Regions from separate parts of the Homo sapiens genome. Here regions 2, 3, 4 and 5 are each linked to region 1. The links are contacts of gene promoters, found by promoter capture Hi-C in blood cells and fetal thymus (Javierre and others, 2016). All regions are on one chromosome and are shown on one strand. Each heading gives the region's core, a stretch centred on a gene start or on the middle of the fragment in contact. The rest is flanking DNA. Distances are from core to core; before and after follow the strand shown. Region 1 holds the start of KLRB1 (killer cell lectin like receptor B1). Region 2 has its middle 24 kb from the start of CLEC2A. Region 3 has its middle 40 kb from the start of LINC02367. Region 4 overlaps LOC105369649 (a long non-coding RNA gene). Region 5 holds the start of CLEC2B (C-type lectin domain family 2 member B).

What was found. The method cuts DNA at HindIII sites, captures the fragments that hold promoters and counts their contacts. A CHiCAGO score of 5 or more calls a contact.
Region 2: a fragment that was not itself captured here is called in contact with the fragment with the promoter of KLRB1 in region 1 in 3 of 17 cell types (total CD4 T cells, naive B cells and naive CD4 T cells); the score reaches 5.3 in total CD4 T cells.
Region 3: a contact is called between a fragment that was not itself captured here and the fragment with the promoter of KLRB1 in region 1, in 7 of 17 cell types (M0 macrophages, M1 macrophages, naive B cells and 4 more). The highest score is 8.1, in M0 macrophages.
Region 4: a fragment that was not itself captured here is called in contact with the fragment with the promoter of KLRB1 in region 1 in 7 of 17 cell types (M0 macrophages, M2 macrophages, M1 macrophages and 4 more); the score reaches 7.5 in M0 macrophages.
Region 5: the fragment with the promoter of CLEC2B here is called in contact with the fragment with the promoter of KLRB1 in region 1 in 4 of 17 cell types (naive B cells, naive CD4 T cells, non-activated CD4 T cells and 1 more); the score reaches 6.3 in naive B cells.

The regions. Positions count from the first base shown.
Region 1 is chr12:9,606,519-9,609,353 of GRCh38, forward strand. It overlaps KLRB1 (killer cell lectin like receptor B1), which reads right to left and starts at 1,398. Exons shown (of 6, transcript NM_002258.3): 1 at 1,237-1,398. The coding sequence starts at 1,321. The HindIII fragment of the contact is 4,730 bases long and covers 1-1,399 here.
Region 2 is chr12:9,907,300-9,910,134 of GRCh38, forward strand. It overlaps a transcript of CLEC2A not described here. Among named protein-coding and RNA genes, the nearest start is that of CLEC2A, 24 kb to the right of the region's middle. The HindIII fragment of the contact is 710 bases long and covers 1,077-1,786 here.
Region 3 is chr12:9,325,985-9,328,819 of GRCh38, forward strand. No RefSeq gene overlaps it. Among named protein-coding and RNA genes, the nearest start is that of LINC02367, 40 kb to the right of the region's middle. The HindIII fragment of the contact is 202 bases long and covers 1,333-1,534 here.
Region 4 is chr12:9,342,121-9,344,955 of GRCh38, forward strand. It overlaps LOC105369649 (a long non-coding RNA gene), which reads right to left. Exons shown (of 3, transcript XR_007063205.1): 2 at 559-682. Among named protein-coding and RNA genes, the nearest start is that of LINC02367, 24 kb to the right of the region's middle. The HindIII fragment of the contact is 2,511 bases long and covers 80-2,590 here.
Region 5 is chr12:9,868,104-9,870,938 of GRCh38, forward strand. CLEC2B (C-type lectin domain family 2 member B) reads right to left here and starts at 1,251. Exons shown (of 5, transcript NM_005127.3): 1 at 1,102-1,251. The HindIII fragment of the contact is 5,556 bases long and covers 1-1,365 here.

The DNA.
Region 1 (2,835 bases), core at 148-2,647:
ATACTTTTCAAACTAGAAACTATCAGGTAGTAATGATATTCAAATCTTTGATCTTGAATATGATTTTTTTTCCAGAAAGTGTTCCCCTCTCTTGAGAGAGTGAAGTATGTTACTCATTAAGCCTACACTTTATATATATATATATAAAATATATAAAATATATGTATAAAAAGTATATATATATATATAAAATATATAAAATATATGTATAAAAAGTATATATATATATATATATATATATATTTTTTTTTTTTTTTTGAGATAGTCTTGCTGTGTCACCCAGGCTGGAGTACAGTGGCACAATTACAGCTCACTGCAGCCTTGATCTCTTGGGCTCAAGCAATCCTCTCACCTCAGCCTCCCGAGTAGCTAGGACCACAGGCACGTGCCCCACACTTGGCTATTTTTTTGTATTGTTTGTAGAGATGAGGTTTTGCCACATTGCCCAGGCTGGCCTTAAACTCCTGGACTCAAGCAAATCACCTTAGCCTACCAAAGTGTTGGGATTACAGGCATGAGCCACTGCAACTGGCCTACACGTTGTATTCTGAAAGGAATATTATGGATGAAAATGCACTGGGACTTAATCATAGTATTGATATTTTGTAGAGGAATTTGGAATAACGTAGGTTGTTATTACAGCAAGTTTGCAATGTGTCTTAAATATTCCTTAGTTCATACATGTAAAATATTTTTCCTTCCTTCCTTCCATCCTTCCTTCCTTCCTCCTTCTCTTTTTCTTTCTTTCCTTTCCTTTCTCTCTCTTTCTTTTTCTTTCTCTCCTTTCTTTCTTTCTTCTTTTCTTTCTCTTTCTTTCCTTTCTTTCTTTCTTTCTTCCTTTCTTTCTTTCTTTCTTTCTTTCTTTCTTTCTTTCTTTCTTTCTTTCTTTTCTTTCTTTCTTTCTTTCTTCCTTCTTTCCATCCCTGTAGAGCAGGGGTAACCAATAGGCAGTGTGCCCAGGGTAGCCTAAAGTGTTCAGAGTCTTTTAACCAAGGCTCAGTAAGACAAGTGATGTTTGCTTTTCATGCTAACTTGATTGAAAAAAATAAATGTATGAGGTTTAAATTTTTTTTCCCAAAGTTGTGATTATCTACAGGCAAGCCATGCAACACCCGTTAAACATTAATATAAAACTACTGCTCATCTTTAAAGCAATGATTTAAAGCCATAAATGTAACAGGAAGATCTAATTCTGGAAGACATACAAATGCCGAAAGGAAAATTAAAGCCACTTACCCCGAGGAAGAGATGAAGGTGAAGAACTTTCTGGGCCTGAGTCTGTGGGTAAGTTTAACTCAGCATATATTGCTTGTTGGTCCATGGCAGACAGAGGAAGGTGGCATTAAACTTGTGTGTAAGAACAAACTCTCAATTCTGTGAGGCAAAATCAGCAAAAGGAAGCTTTCTGCCTGCAGTACTTTGTTGTCTCTCTTTTGTCCCCACCCACATACACTTTTTGTTGGTGGTTATCTCCATAAATTACTGAGACAATCCACTGACTGCATGTTCATTATACCTAGCTATGTAATATCTACTTTCCTTAATTAACTGGCCTGTTGTTTGAGAAAATTCTGGGAGGCTCATTTGTTCTTGTTTTTCTAACCATCCCTTTTGTGTTCCTCTCTCAGGGCCAGGACCAGAGTGAAGCAAATGAGGCATAGCCTGGGGTTCCAATTTAAGGGGCCCCCAACAAAACTCACTAATTAACAGAAATAATATTTAGCACAATTTTGTAAAAGTAAAAATTAATGCAAAAAAGTCCATAATGCTATTCAAAGGCTCTAAAATCTTCCTGAAATATCTGTGCTCCAAAGAAAGTTGTGAAATGTGAAAAATGGAAACATAAATGTGAGAAAGCCCCCTGAATAACACAACAGAAAAAGCAATGTGCTAAAGATCAGTAGCCTACTGTTAGCTTAGCTCTAAAGGCACTCTTGGATATGATAGCATTTTCACATAAGTAAAAGTATTTGGAAACTGCCAGAATTGTAGGAAGTGGAGTATATGGAATTTTTTATCTCTTTGAAAGACTTTCTTTTTTTTTCAAGGTGATTATAGTATGTGTCTACTTTTTTTTTTTTACCTTTTTTTATTATTATTATACTTTAAGTTCACAATGTACAGGTTTGTTACATATGTATACATGTGCCATGTTGGTGTGCTGCACCCGTTAACTTGTCATTTACATTAGGTATATCTCCTAATGCTATCCCTCCCCCCTCCCCCCACCCCACGACAGGCCCCGGTGTGTGGTGTTCCCCTCCCTGTGTCCAAATATTCTCATTGTTCAATTCCAACCTATGAGTGAGAACATGCGGTGTTTGGTTTTCTGTCCTTGCAATAGTTTGCTCAGAATGATGGTTTCCAGCTTCATCCATGTCCCTACAAAGGACATGAACTCATCCTTTTTTATGGCTGCATACTATTCCATGGTGCATATGTGCCATATATTCTTAATCCAGTCTATCATTGATAGACATTTGGGATGGTTCACGAGTCTTTGCTATTGTGAATAGTGCCACAATAAACATATGTGTGCATGTGTCTTTATAGCAGCGTGATTTATAATCCTTTGGGTATATACCCAGTAATGAGATGGCTGGGTCAAATTCTAGTTCTAGTCCCTCGAGGAATCGCCACACTGTCTTCCACAATGGTTGAACTAGTTTAGAGTCCCACCAACAGTGTAAAAGTGTTCCTATTTCTCCACATCCTCTCCAGCACCTGTTTTTTCCTGACTTTTTAATGACTGTCATTCTAACTGGTGTGAGATGGTATCTCATTGTGGTTTAGATTTGCATTTCTCTGATGGCCAGTGATGATGAGCATTTTTTC
Region 2 (2,835 bases), core at 182-2,681, 300 kb after region 1:
TGATGAATTTCTTCAGAAGTCCACAGAAGATGGTCAGGTTTCCACTGGGTAAATTTTTGGTATAAAAGTTTAGTTTTTAGAGCATATGAATGAATCCATAAGCAGCAATATCCAACTAATCCTAAACATTTTTGGAGCTTCTGCTTAGTTTGAGGCAAAGGTAAGGATCTGATTCCTTCTACTTGTTCGGGTCCCATCCTTCATTTGCCTTTACTTATTAAGTGCCCTAAATATGTAACTTCACGTTCTACAAACTTGAGTTTTCCTTTTGAAACTCATAGTCCTTCCCCTTGTAAATGGTTAAGAAGGTGTGTAGAGAAGGCAGCTACTTTCTCTACATTTTCACCAGATATGAGAAGATCATCCACATATTGGAGCAGACATATGTGTTTTGGGGTATGAATTTATTCTGAAACCTGTTCTAAATTTGGCCAAAAAGGCTAGGGGAATCTGTGAACCCTTGGGGCAAAACTATCCATCAGTACTGTTGTTTCTGTCCAGAATAAGGATCTTCCCATTCGAAAGCAAATATGTCCCGACTGTCCTCAGCCAAAGGACAGGCCCAAAAGGTATCTTTTAAGTGTATTACTGTAAACCATTGATGGTCACGTGGGATTTTGCTGAGGATGGTGTAAGGGTTAGGGACAAAAGGATAAGTCATCTGGACTAATTGGTTGACAGCTCTGAGGTCTTGTGCTAGTCGGTATGACCTGTCTGATTTCTTTACAGGCAGTATTGGGGTGTTAAAAGAGGACATGCAGGGTTCAAGAAGCCCGTCTTGAATGACGCTTTAAATTACGGGCCTCAAGCTTATTCTGCCTTCTAGGGGAATGGGATATTGTTTTCTTCTTACTACCTCCCCAGCAGTTTTCAGCTTTATGTGTTTTGGAAGGACTTGAGGTCTTCCTTGATTTTCTTCTCTTGACCAGACATCAGGATGGATGTGTCTTTCACCCACACTGGTAAGTAGGTTTAGTGAGGTGAGGAATCCCTCTGGGCCAACATGTAAGCTGATGCTTAGTTCTAGCATTAAGTCCCTTCCTAACAGGTTAATTTCTGCTTCCAGGATTAATAGAAGCTTCATATGAGTTGATCGGTTTTTATACTGACTTCTGTTTCTTCTAAGATTTTAGCTTTAAATCCTTCTCCCTTTACCCCTGAGACAGAAAGTTCTGAGGAGCAGGTGATATCAGATGGAGGGAAACAGAGGAGCGGGCTGCTCCTGAATCTACTAAAAACGTTATGAGTTCATATTTGGGTCCCACCTCTAAGTTTATCAAGGGCTCTTGGTGGGACTTGAGATAAAAGAGACAGAGCCCCTGGCCCCCCCTATTCTTCCTCAAAAGTCATGAGTGGAAGGACTTCTTTTTATTTTTCCCATGCGGGACATTCCCTCTTAAAGAGACCTGTTCTTCCACATTTAAAACATCTATTCTGTCTTTTCTCTGTTTTGGGATTCTTTGGCTTGGCCCCCCTGTGTTCTTTATAGGGTCTGGCAAATGAGGTCCCGGATCCTTTAATAGGGGGCTTGAAGCCTCTAAATGGAGGTTTGGGTCATTTATAGATTTTGGCCCCCTGGGGGCTTTGTTTAGAAATGTATTGATTTGGAGCCCCCTGTTGATAGGTGGATAGCATGAATTTTGCTTTCACTTTTTGCTTTTCTTCGTATCTTCTCACATATACCTTTTGAGTTTCTCTGAGAAATTCACTTAGAGGATGATCTTTCCAATCCTCTATCTTTTGTAATTTCTTGGAAATGTCTGCCCAACTATTAGTAAAAAAATGAAGCTTTAACATTCCTTGTCCTAGGGGATCTTATAAATCTAGGCCTGCTTATTTTTTCATTTGCTCCTTTAATCTGTTTAAGAATTCTATAGGCTCTTCATCCTTCCCCTGTTGTGTGCTGAGTGTCTGAGACAGAGTCTGAGTCCAGGGTACTTATTCTTGAGTTCTTTTTATCATCATCTCCCTCAGGTCTTGCAGGTTTTTCCAGTGAGCTATGTTGTTATTGTCCCACCAGGGATCTTGGGCACGGAATTCCTCGTCTGCTGTAGAAACGTTTTAACTGGGGGGTGTTCATGTTCTCAAACTACCATAGTGGCCCTAAGGATCATGCCCCTTTCTCTCCCTGAAAACAGGATGCCCAGGATGGGCATTAACTCAGCCCAAGTATATAACTGGGGTCCTAGAAATTGATCACCGACCTGATCTGCCACTCGATGAGGGTCATCTCACAGCGGCTTGAGTTCTTTTTTAAAGCCTGGAACTTCTGAACTGGTTAGAGGAGCATTTATGAAGCTGATGGCACCCCCTCCCTGCAGCACCTCTTTTAAGGGGCAGAGAGTCAGAGCTGATTCCCCAGGGATAGGGGATAAAGGGAAGTTTTGAATATCCTTTTTACATTGCTCTACCTCACGTTGGAGTCCTTTTAGAGAAGAGTATTTAGGCTGGTAAGGAGCTGGCTCATGGGATGATAATTCCCAAGAATTGGGGTTGTAAGGGGTGGGGAACAATGTGAGCAGGGGAGGGATCTGGAGTGGGGTCTGAGGTGGCAACAGCTGCTTGAGGGGGAGAATTGGGGGTATTGAGTGGAGGAAGATGGTCTAGGGGATCCCATGTGTTGATGGGCTGTCTAGGAATAGGGACCTTTTCTCTTTCAGAGCAGTAAGATTCTAGCTTGCTCCCTCTGATTTTTAGAGGGTAAAGGAGGACAGGTCCTTGCCTCCAACAAAGAGCATACTCTATATCCTCCAGAGACACAGGGCTTTTGTCATTAATATGTTCCATTAAAAGTTAACAAATCCATTCTTCACTGGACCCAAATTTTGGCCAGAA
Region 3 (2,835 bases), core at 184-2,683, 280 kb before region 1:
GGGGCCTTTCCTTCTTGGCTTCCTGGATGGCCGCCACTAAGATTTTCGCATGTCTTTTGGATGCCTTATCGGCGGCCTTTTCAGTTGCCTGAGCTGCCCGTTTTCGCTTTTCAAACTCTCGATTGTCAAAAACTTTCTGGGCTATCTCTAGAAGTTGGCTAATGTTCATTCCAGCAAATCCTTCCAGTTTTTGTAATTTTCTTTTAATATCAGGGCCTGCCTGAGCCACAAATGCCAAATTAATAGCACAGCTATTCTCGGGAGCCGCCGGGTCAAAAGGGGTGTAACTCCGGTAGGCCTCCTGGAGGCGTTCCAAAAACGCCCCCGGTGGCTCATCAGGTCCCTGGACAACTTCAAATGTCTTAGACAAATTTATGGGTTTTCGAGCAGCTCCTTTGATACCCGCAAGGAGATACTGGTGAAAATCATCTAAAGCTCTCTTCCTGCCTGAGGAGTTTGGATCCTAATTAGGCCGGGTAGAGGGAAAACCTCCTCTAGGAGGTTATGAGCTTCCTCCTCTGGTCTACCGTCTGATGTAAGGAAATATTTTCTGGCCTCTCTTCGGGTACGTTCCTTCTCTTCAGAGGTGGAAAGGGTTAAAAGGAGCTGTTGACAGTCCTCCCAGGTGGGCCGGTGAGTCCGGAGCATGGACTCCATCAGTGAGGTCAAGACCTGGGGCATTTCAGAAAAGGGGGGGTTATGAGTCTTCCAGTTGTACAGGTCAGAAGTAGAGAAGCGGACATAAACTAAGAATGGGCCTGAGTGCTTATCGCCCGGAGGGACTTGTGCCTCCTCAGCGGGAGGAGGGGGGCTACCTCCTCCTGCCGTGGCCGCGATCAGGAGGCAATAGGTGGAGAGCCCACAGGGGAGGTAGTGCAGGAGACAAGAGAACATTCTGAGGGAGCAGGAGGGTTATAAGGCGGTGGAACTGGGTGAAGGAAACTTTCCTCTTCCTCACAAGGAGGCAATACAGGAGGAGCCGAGCCGGCTGAGGGTCGAGGCGAAAGTGAGGTCTGGCTCAAAAGGACCTTGGAGGTAGAATTATGAATGGCGCATGAGCGGAGCCGTGGAGGAGGGCTCCGGACCAAACTCAGCCATTGATCAATGTAGGGAAACTGATCGGGGTGACCGGGAGTTCCAGCAACAACCCGCCACACAGTCTGAACAATTGCGAGGTTCAGTGACCCTTCTGGGGGCGGGGGTGCACCTGACTCTAAACTTTGGCCATTCTACTCCACAGAGTGTCCAGAGTTTGCCTTTTTTAAGGCGGAGCCTATAATCCTCTGAGAAGCCTAGAGAGAAATTTTGTAACATACATTGGAGAGGGCTCCAAGCTTTATGAGGCCAGGAAGAAGAGTTTCCTATTCTGGAGGCAGTTTAACAAGGTTTGAGCAGAGATATTAAACTTAGCATGGACAGAGAAATTCATGACCTAGGGGGGCTGTAGTATCAGAAGAACAGAAATAACATAACCAGAAGGAGTGGCAAAACAGCTATAACCAACACTTCCTGCCGCATAAGGTTTGTCTTCTTAAGCTTTGAGACTTAGGGAGAGGACACGTGGCAGGTCTGAGGCCCGTGGGACCTATGTGACTTCCCTCTCCCCTTTGACTTATAACCTAAATATCTTTGGTGTCTCCACGACTCAAAGGCAAAGAGTTCAGACTTGGCCCTTTCTTTTAAGGGTTTGAGGAGGGAGAGAAGAGCCAAGTCTTGGAGGCGCTGGACTTGCTGCGACACAGGAAAACGAGATGTGCAGGGCAAGGGATGGCGATGAGGAGGAAAGGGGCCACTTGGATCTTTCCTAAGGTAGGAGAGTAGTCACAGAGGATAAGAGTCCAGCTGGAGTGAAGCAGTACGGGGGTAGTCCTTCTATTTTAGGGTTGCCAGATAAAATACAGTATGCAAAATCAATGTGCATTGGAGAAAATAATTTATTATTAGAGAATACGTAATTTCTTTAGCATAAATATGTCTTGTGCCATTCTTAGTTTGGGACATACTTATGCTAAAAAATTATTTGTTCTTTATCTGGAATTCAGAATTAACTAGGCATTTTATATTTTTATTTGCTAACTCTGGCTACCTTATTCTCTTCTTAATATTCTTCAACTCTCCTAGCTTTGCCCTCCTTCCCTGCCCCCTCTTCTAGGGGAGTCGGATCGAGTTGTAAGGAGAACATGCCCTCCCCTCCTCTTCCCTTCCCTTCCCTCCCCTTCCCTTCCCTTCCTTCCTTTTCCCAGTTTCTATATACTGTATTAGTCACTAATCTAAGTGTTCTAGGTACAACAAACAAAACCACATCAAAATAATCCACAGCTCCCCACTGCTCTCAGAGGCCTACATGCTGGTGGGAGAGATGGCAATTAAACAAGATTAGTAAGTAGGGTAGAGAATATTAGAGAGGAAGATGTCCTGAGAAGAAGAAATAAATCAGGAAGAGGATATGAAGTGCTGGGGAGTGTTGAAATTTTAGATGGGGTGGGGCTTGACAAAGCCTCCCTGAGAAGGTGTCTTCCGAGGAAAGGCTTGCAAGGAAGGGAGGGTAGGTGTTTGGGGGAAGAGCATCTAGACAAAAAAAGACAAGTACAGTGCAAGGTTCTGGAGGCAGGCGCGCACTTGGCTGCTGTGTTTGAAAATGAGGGCGGTGCGGCTGCAGGGGAGAGGACGGGGGGTGGACAAGAACTATGGGGTGGCCAGGTCCTATGGGGCTGTGGGAAGGACCTTGAACTTTACTCTGAGGAGCATGGGAGCCATCGCAGAGTATTGAGCAGAAGAGTGGCATGACCTGGCTGGATTCTTTCATAGAGTCCTTCTGGCTGTGATATTACTCTC
Region 4 (2,835 bases), core at 85-2,584, 260 kb before region 1:
AACCTCCACTCCTTTACTCAAGCTTACCACCCGGCACCCTCGGTCTCAGCTGACACCTCTGCCATACATGTCATTAGGAAGCTTGAAGCCATCCCTAGCCTTACCCATCCCCAGTCTTTCTCTTGCTGCCCTGCATGTGGTGTTCCTCCTCTTTTCAAGACAAAGCTGCTCACCTGAATTTCCCTTCCTCAGCTCCTGCCACCTTCAAGACCACGCTCTGTCAGTTATCATCTCTCTCCTAAATTTTTAACTTCTCTCTTTTTCCTCTGCCAGATGCATAACCAAGTCTGTCAGATTAACCTATAAGCTCCTTTTCAACCCATTTCACCATCTGGTCATAGCCCAGTTTTAGCTTGCCCCATTGCTTTACTCAGGACATCCCCAAATCTGCTGTTCTCACCGCTCCCCTGACAAAAACTTTCATCTGAGATGAGTCTTTCTGTGTAGATGGAGCTATCACGTATTTTGTTATAACCTGACAGCATTGTGAACAGGGCCAGTTGCTTGGCAGGGCTAGAGAACACTCTTGTAGAAAGGGATAGATAGATGAGCACACACCTGCTGGCCCACGGGTGATCTGCTCTAGGGAGGTGGTGGTCATCTGATGCACTCCATTTGCAGTTCAGCCCATGTGTGGAGTCATCTTCTCCTGCCAACATTCCCAAGAGGGCTCACCACTCACCTTCAGAGTCAAGCAGTTGTGGATGGAAATTGACAGGAGTAAGTAAGCATTCCATCAATATTTGACAATCACTAGGCTAAGTGCCAGGTTTATAACAATGAATAGGACAGGTGGGATGTCTCCCATGCAGTTTACTGTTTGCCCACGAGCCTTTCCCCCATTTTCTACCTCCAGTGGCCTTGGTGCTCTGGGGCCTATTCTATGCCTCCACTGTCACTGGCTCTATGTGTTTGCTCTCTGCAGCTAGCCTTCCTGCTGTTGACAGTGTCCTCCCTTGTCATCACAGTTGATTGACCCAGAAGCTCTGACTGGAGCAGGGAGGGCTTGGAGGGTCAGAAAAAATACTATTAATTATAGAGAGGGTTAAATTGTTTGCTCAGTGTCATTCAGTCAGTACCAGAGATAAAAACTCCCCAAATCCCTCAGATTAGGTCAAATCCTGCCATAGGCACCTATAGTACCTTGCACCTCTTTTTTTTTTGTAACAATCATCACTCTTGTAGCTATTTGTTTAGTGCCTGTGTTCACCGGAGTCCAGGCTCTACTAGAGCTGGTATCACATCTATCCTTTTCACTGTGCATCTAGCACACTCTTGGTATAGATTGCTGGACAAAAATATTTGATTTTATTTTAGATTTTTAGGCACCTTGAAATTTTTAGTTAACTGTTTTTTAAAGCGGTTTCCTAAATCTGCAACCATTTCCCTTGCATAAAATGGGTTTTTGAGTCAGGAGATCAGGCACTACTGCAAAAAAGGGCCTAGGATCCAAGGCAGATTTAGGGAGAAGGAAATGTTCTAAACAAAAACAAAAACCAGTGGAGCCAGAGGTGTGGATAAGGTATACGATAAGCTGTGTGGACTCAGAGGTCCTGGGTGTGTAATAACACAAGATTTCCTCCCCACGGCACACAGCTGCTTGTGCTCAAGTCCTGCCAGTTGACAGAAAGCTCCCTTGTCTTGTGACTACTGCATTAGGCAGAAGGAGCAAAGAAAGGGCACAACGGACCACGGGCAAGGTAAGGAGGGAAAGACAGTTGCTTTGAAAAGTCACCAGCAGCCGAGGATCAAGGCCCTTTCAGACCTGGCCCTACATGTTGGGGAGGTACTTGAGAGCATCCTTTAGGAGGAGGCAGTAGGGGGCCAATGAGATTTTGAGGACAGAGCAGCTGCTCACACTAGAGAGGCCAGAAATCCTGAGGTTGGACAGAATTTGCTATTGTTTGGATGGTGCTTCTTGAATTTTTATTCTTTTTTCCCCTAGGGATATGGCTGCTGTATATTGTTAATGATCAGCTGGTTTGGTTTCTGAGTACTTTCAGGGTGCCAAGGCTTTGTATGGGTTCCTCAGTTGCAAATAGGTTCATGCAGTGACTTCCCCAGACACTGCTTCTTGTGATATAGTTTTGTTTGAGGTGTAATTTAGGCTGCAGTCTAGTAGATGGCATTTAAGAGTAAGAACTGGCAGGTAGGGGTGGGGACAGAGGCAATGGAGAAGTGTGTGTTTGGGATTTAAAGAACCTCAAGAAACTGTGATATTATGAAATATATATCTGGTCTTCATCTTGATTCCTGGCATAAAACTCCTATAATTCTTGGAATCCAAAATTTTAAATCTAAATTGCGACTGTAAGAAAATAACGTGGTGCTGCCTTGTGCTGCCTTTCATTCTAAATGGATTTTGGGTGACAAGGTTTAACAGAGTAGAATCACAGGAATGATTTTCTAATTTCTCAAAGTGAGATAGTTTTTATCTTGGACCCCCCAAACATTGAAGAACCCTTTCTTATGTGGATTTCTAAATAGTGTACAGCACAGTAGTAGGGTTTATTTCCTAAATGGTAAAACAAAATCACAGAGAATCTGAGTAACCTTGGATTTTCCTGCTTTAGCCACTTGGCAGAGACTAAGCTTTCTAAGCCAAGGAACCAGACAATCACAGCGTTATTGGGTAAACTGTAGCTGACCTTGTGTAAGCCTTCTCTGGGGTAACATATGACCATGATTTATAAGTTTCTCCCACTATCACCGACACATATTTTTCTGCTTTTTTGGTGTGTTTTCTGTTGTCCTCTTTACAAAAAAGCTAAAGGCTTTTTTTGAGAGACAGTACCAGGTATTTACTATGGCTGAATGCATCATACCTAACATCAC
Region 5 (2,835 bases), core at 1-2,500, 260 kb after region 1:
ATACTGAATATATTATTCAGTAACTTTTAAAATATATTCATATGTAATATGATATATAATATTGTATTATATAATGTATTTATATACAAATGTATAAATTTATACAATTGATTGAAAGTAGAAAATAACACTGGTTTTACTAGTGGCTGGAAGGCCTTCTTAAAACTTTTGATTAAAATGATATTTTATGCTACCATCAAATATTGATCTCATTCCCCGCAAACCTGTTTTATCTAACTTTAGGCAGAATTATAAAACCGGTTAAAATACGGGAGGAAGGATAAAGTGTGCATTCTATTGTACCACAGCAATAATTTTTTTGACCGTAGCATACGCTGGTAGGTTGACATTTAGTTAAACGGGAAATGCTTAAAGCTCATCACAGTCCCTAAATCTCTAAATCATAGATCGTTGTATTGAATGCATTTAGTTTCAGCCTTTTCTCTTTCAAATATTTTGACATAAATAAACCCTGTTGAAATCTCAAAGATGTAGCTTGGATCTTATATATTCCGAACTTGCTATTTAATAAATCCAATGTTACCAGGTTGTTTCATAGTGTATTTTTTAGAACATTTTCTTTCCTTATCCTTCTTAGGGTTGGTAAAGACATCTCCATGGATATCGGAGTACTAGCAATTCCTTAGTAAGAGTAGGAAAGGGATATATTCTTTCCGTTAAGTACTCCTAAAGCCCGGAGTATCTTTACACCATCCAATAAAGCAATCTTTAAAAATATTAGAACTATTGGCTAAATTTATCATATTATGTATGCATTCTGAGAACTGTATGAGTATCTGGATCATATCTATCATCTTCTCAAGTATTTGTTTTATAAAATACTTAGTAAAAATGAAACTAAATCTTGAGCAGTTTTAAGTCATGGTTAATCCTTCTCCATTGTAATTCAAATAATGTAAAGTAAGTCTGAATTTATTAGGACAAAACAGTCATATGCAAATCTCAATCTTGTTATAAGAAGGAATTTTCTAGTTTCACAAAAGAAACCACAAAATTTAATTCTTTTCTCGAAGGCTTTAACATTCTGCATCACAATTTCAATAAATAACGGTCATTCTAAACAAACAAAAATGTTCTTACCGTGCTTCTTTTAATCAGCGTTTTGATTTTCTGCTAGCAGCTTTGTGTCATGTCTTGCAGAAACTCTCTTCAAAGTTGTAACTTTATTTAACTTTAATATAAAAATGTTACTCTTGTTTTTACAGCACAGCTCCAAACTAGAGGTATACCACTTTTGAAGAGTAACTCAAAGTATAAATAGCATTTTGCAAACTGGAAGTAACCATGTGACTATCTATTAGTCATACTGTTGTTTATTACAATTTTCTTCTCGTCAAAAAAGAAAGCTTGCCAAGGAGGAAGGAAGTTTGTGATATAACAATTTAAAGCTGAAGAATAAACACATATTTTCTTACTTTCTCAACTGGGATTCTCATCTGAACCACAGAACACGAAATTGCTCAAGTGGCTGTTTTTCTGATTCATCCAGGAGTGGTACTTAACCACGTATCCTTCCAGAACTGTAGGAGAGGCTGATACTAATTAATTCAACAGCATTCTTTAGGACATTACTGCTTTCTTATCCTGTGTTAAGAAAGATCACCTTAAAAGCGATAGAATCAAAGAAAAAGCAATGGTTTAAACTTTGGCTACTGAAAGAAAAACAAAAACTATTATCTCTCTCTCAAAGACAAATGCGTGCAAAGTCACACGTGTGGGTGTGAGCACACACACAAACACACACAAAGACACACAGAGGGAAAAAAGAAAACGAAAGTAACAAAGTGCCCAGAACGTTATCATCAGCATACAAGATGACACCATTATGCTTTTGCTAAGTTACCAGGCCACAATTTTGTCTTCAAATCTGCTCTAATCAGTTTCCCAGTGATTTTGTATTACCCCTCAACAAATATATTAGGGAGGAAACTGAGGAGAAGAAGCCAGTGTCCCGCAAGCGGCTTCGGGATTAACACTGCATTTGTTCTGAGAGAGAAACTTGAAGAGGAAAAGCAAATGAGAATAGAGAAGAAACTGTAGTACAAAGGAATTAAAACAAAGAAAATATGAAGAGAATAAGAAATACAGGTTTAATCATTTCTGGGCAGAAGGAAAGGACAGATAACAAAATTGCTCTTTTCATTTTTGGACAGAAAAAAAAGACAGAAAATTCATGAGGAAATGAATATATTCTACCTTTGTTGTTAACAAAAGATTGTATCCAAAGAACTATTAGAAAAGCATGTATAGAAAAATATAGAGATTACTCAAGTATGGTTGAGTGAAATTTAGTTTTGTTCCAAAAAGGAAAACAGTCAAGATACAACAGTTAAGATATAAAACATTTTCAACACAGGGAAATGTTCCCCGCTGTTGCTTTGCAGTTCATCCTCACCCCTGAAGCCAGGCAGCAGCCAACTTACTGTCAATAAACATGAGCTTTGCTGGTTTTAGAAATTCCTGTTAAGCAGAATGATACAGTTGGCAATTCTTGTAAGTCTGATGTCTTTCACTGAGCATAATGTTTTTGAGTTTTATCCATGTTTTTGCACAGATCAGCAGTTAATTTCTTTTTATTACTGAGTAGTATTTCATTGTACAGACATAAAATATTTTTATCTATTTTATAATAAAATGTATCCATTATGACATTGAGCTTTTTCCACTTCTTGGATATCATAAGGTCAAAATAAACATTTATGCAAAAGTTTTTCTATTGACACGTTTTTTAATCTTTTGAAGAAATACCTGGATGTGAAACTGCTAGGTTACATAGAAAATGTATGTTTTATTTTATAAATGTATTTTTTTCCA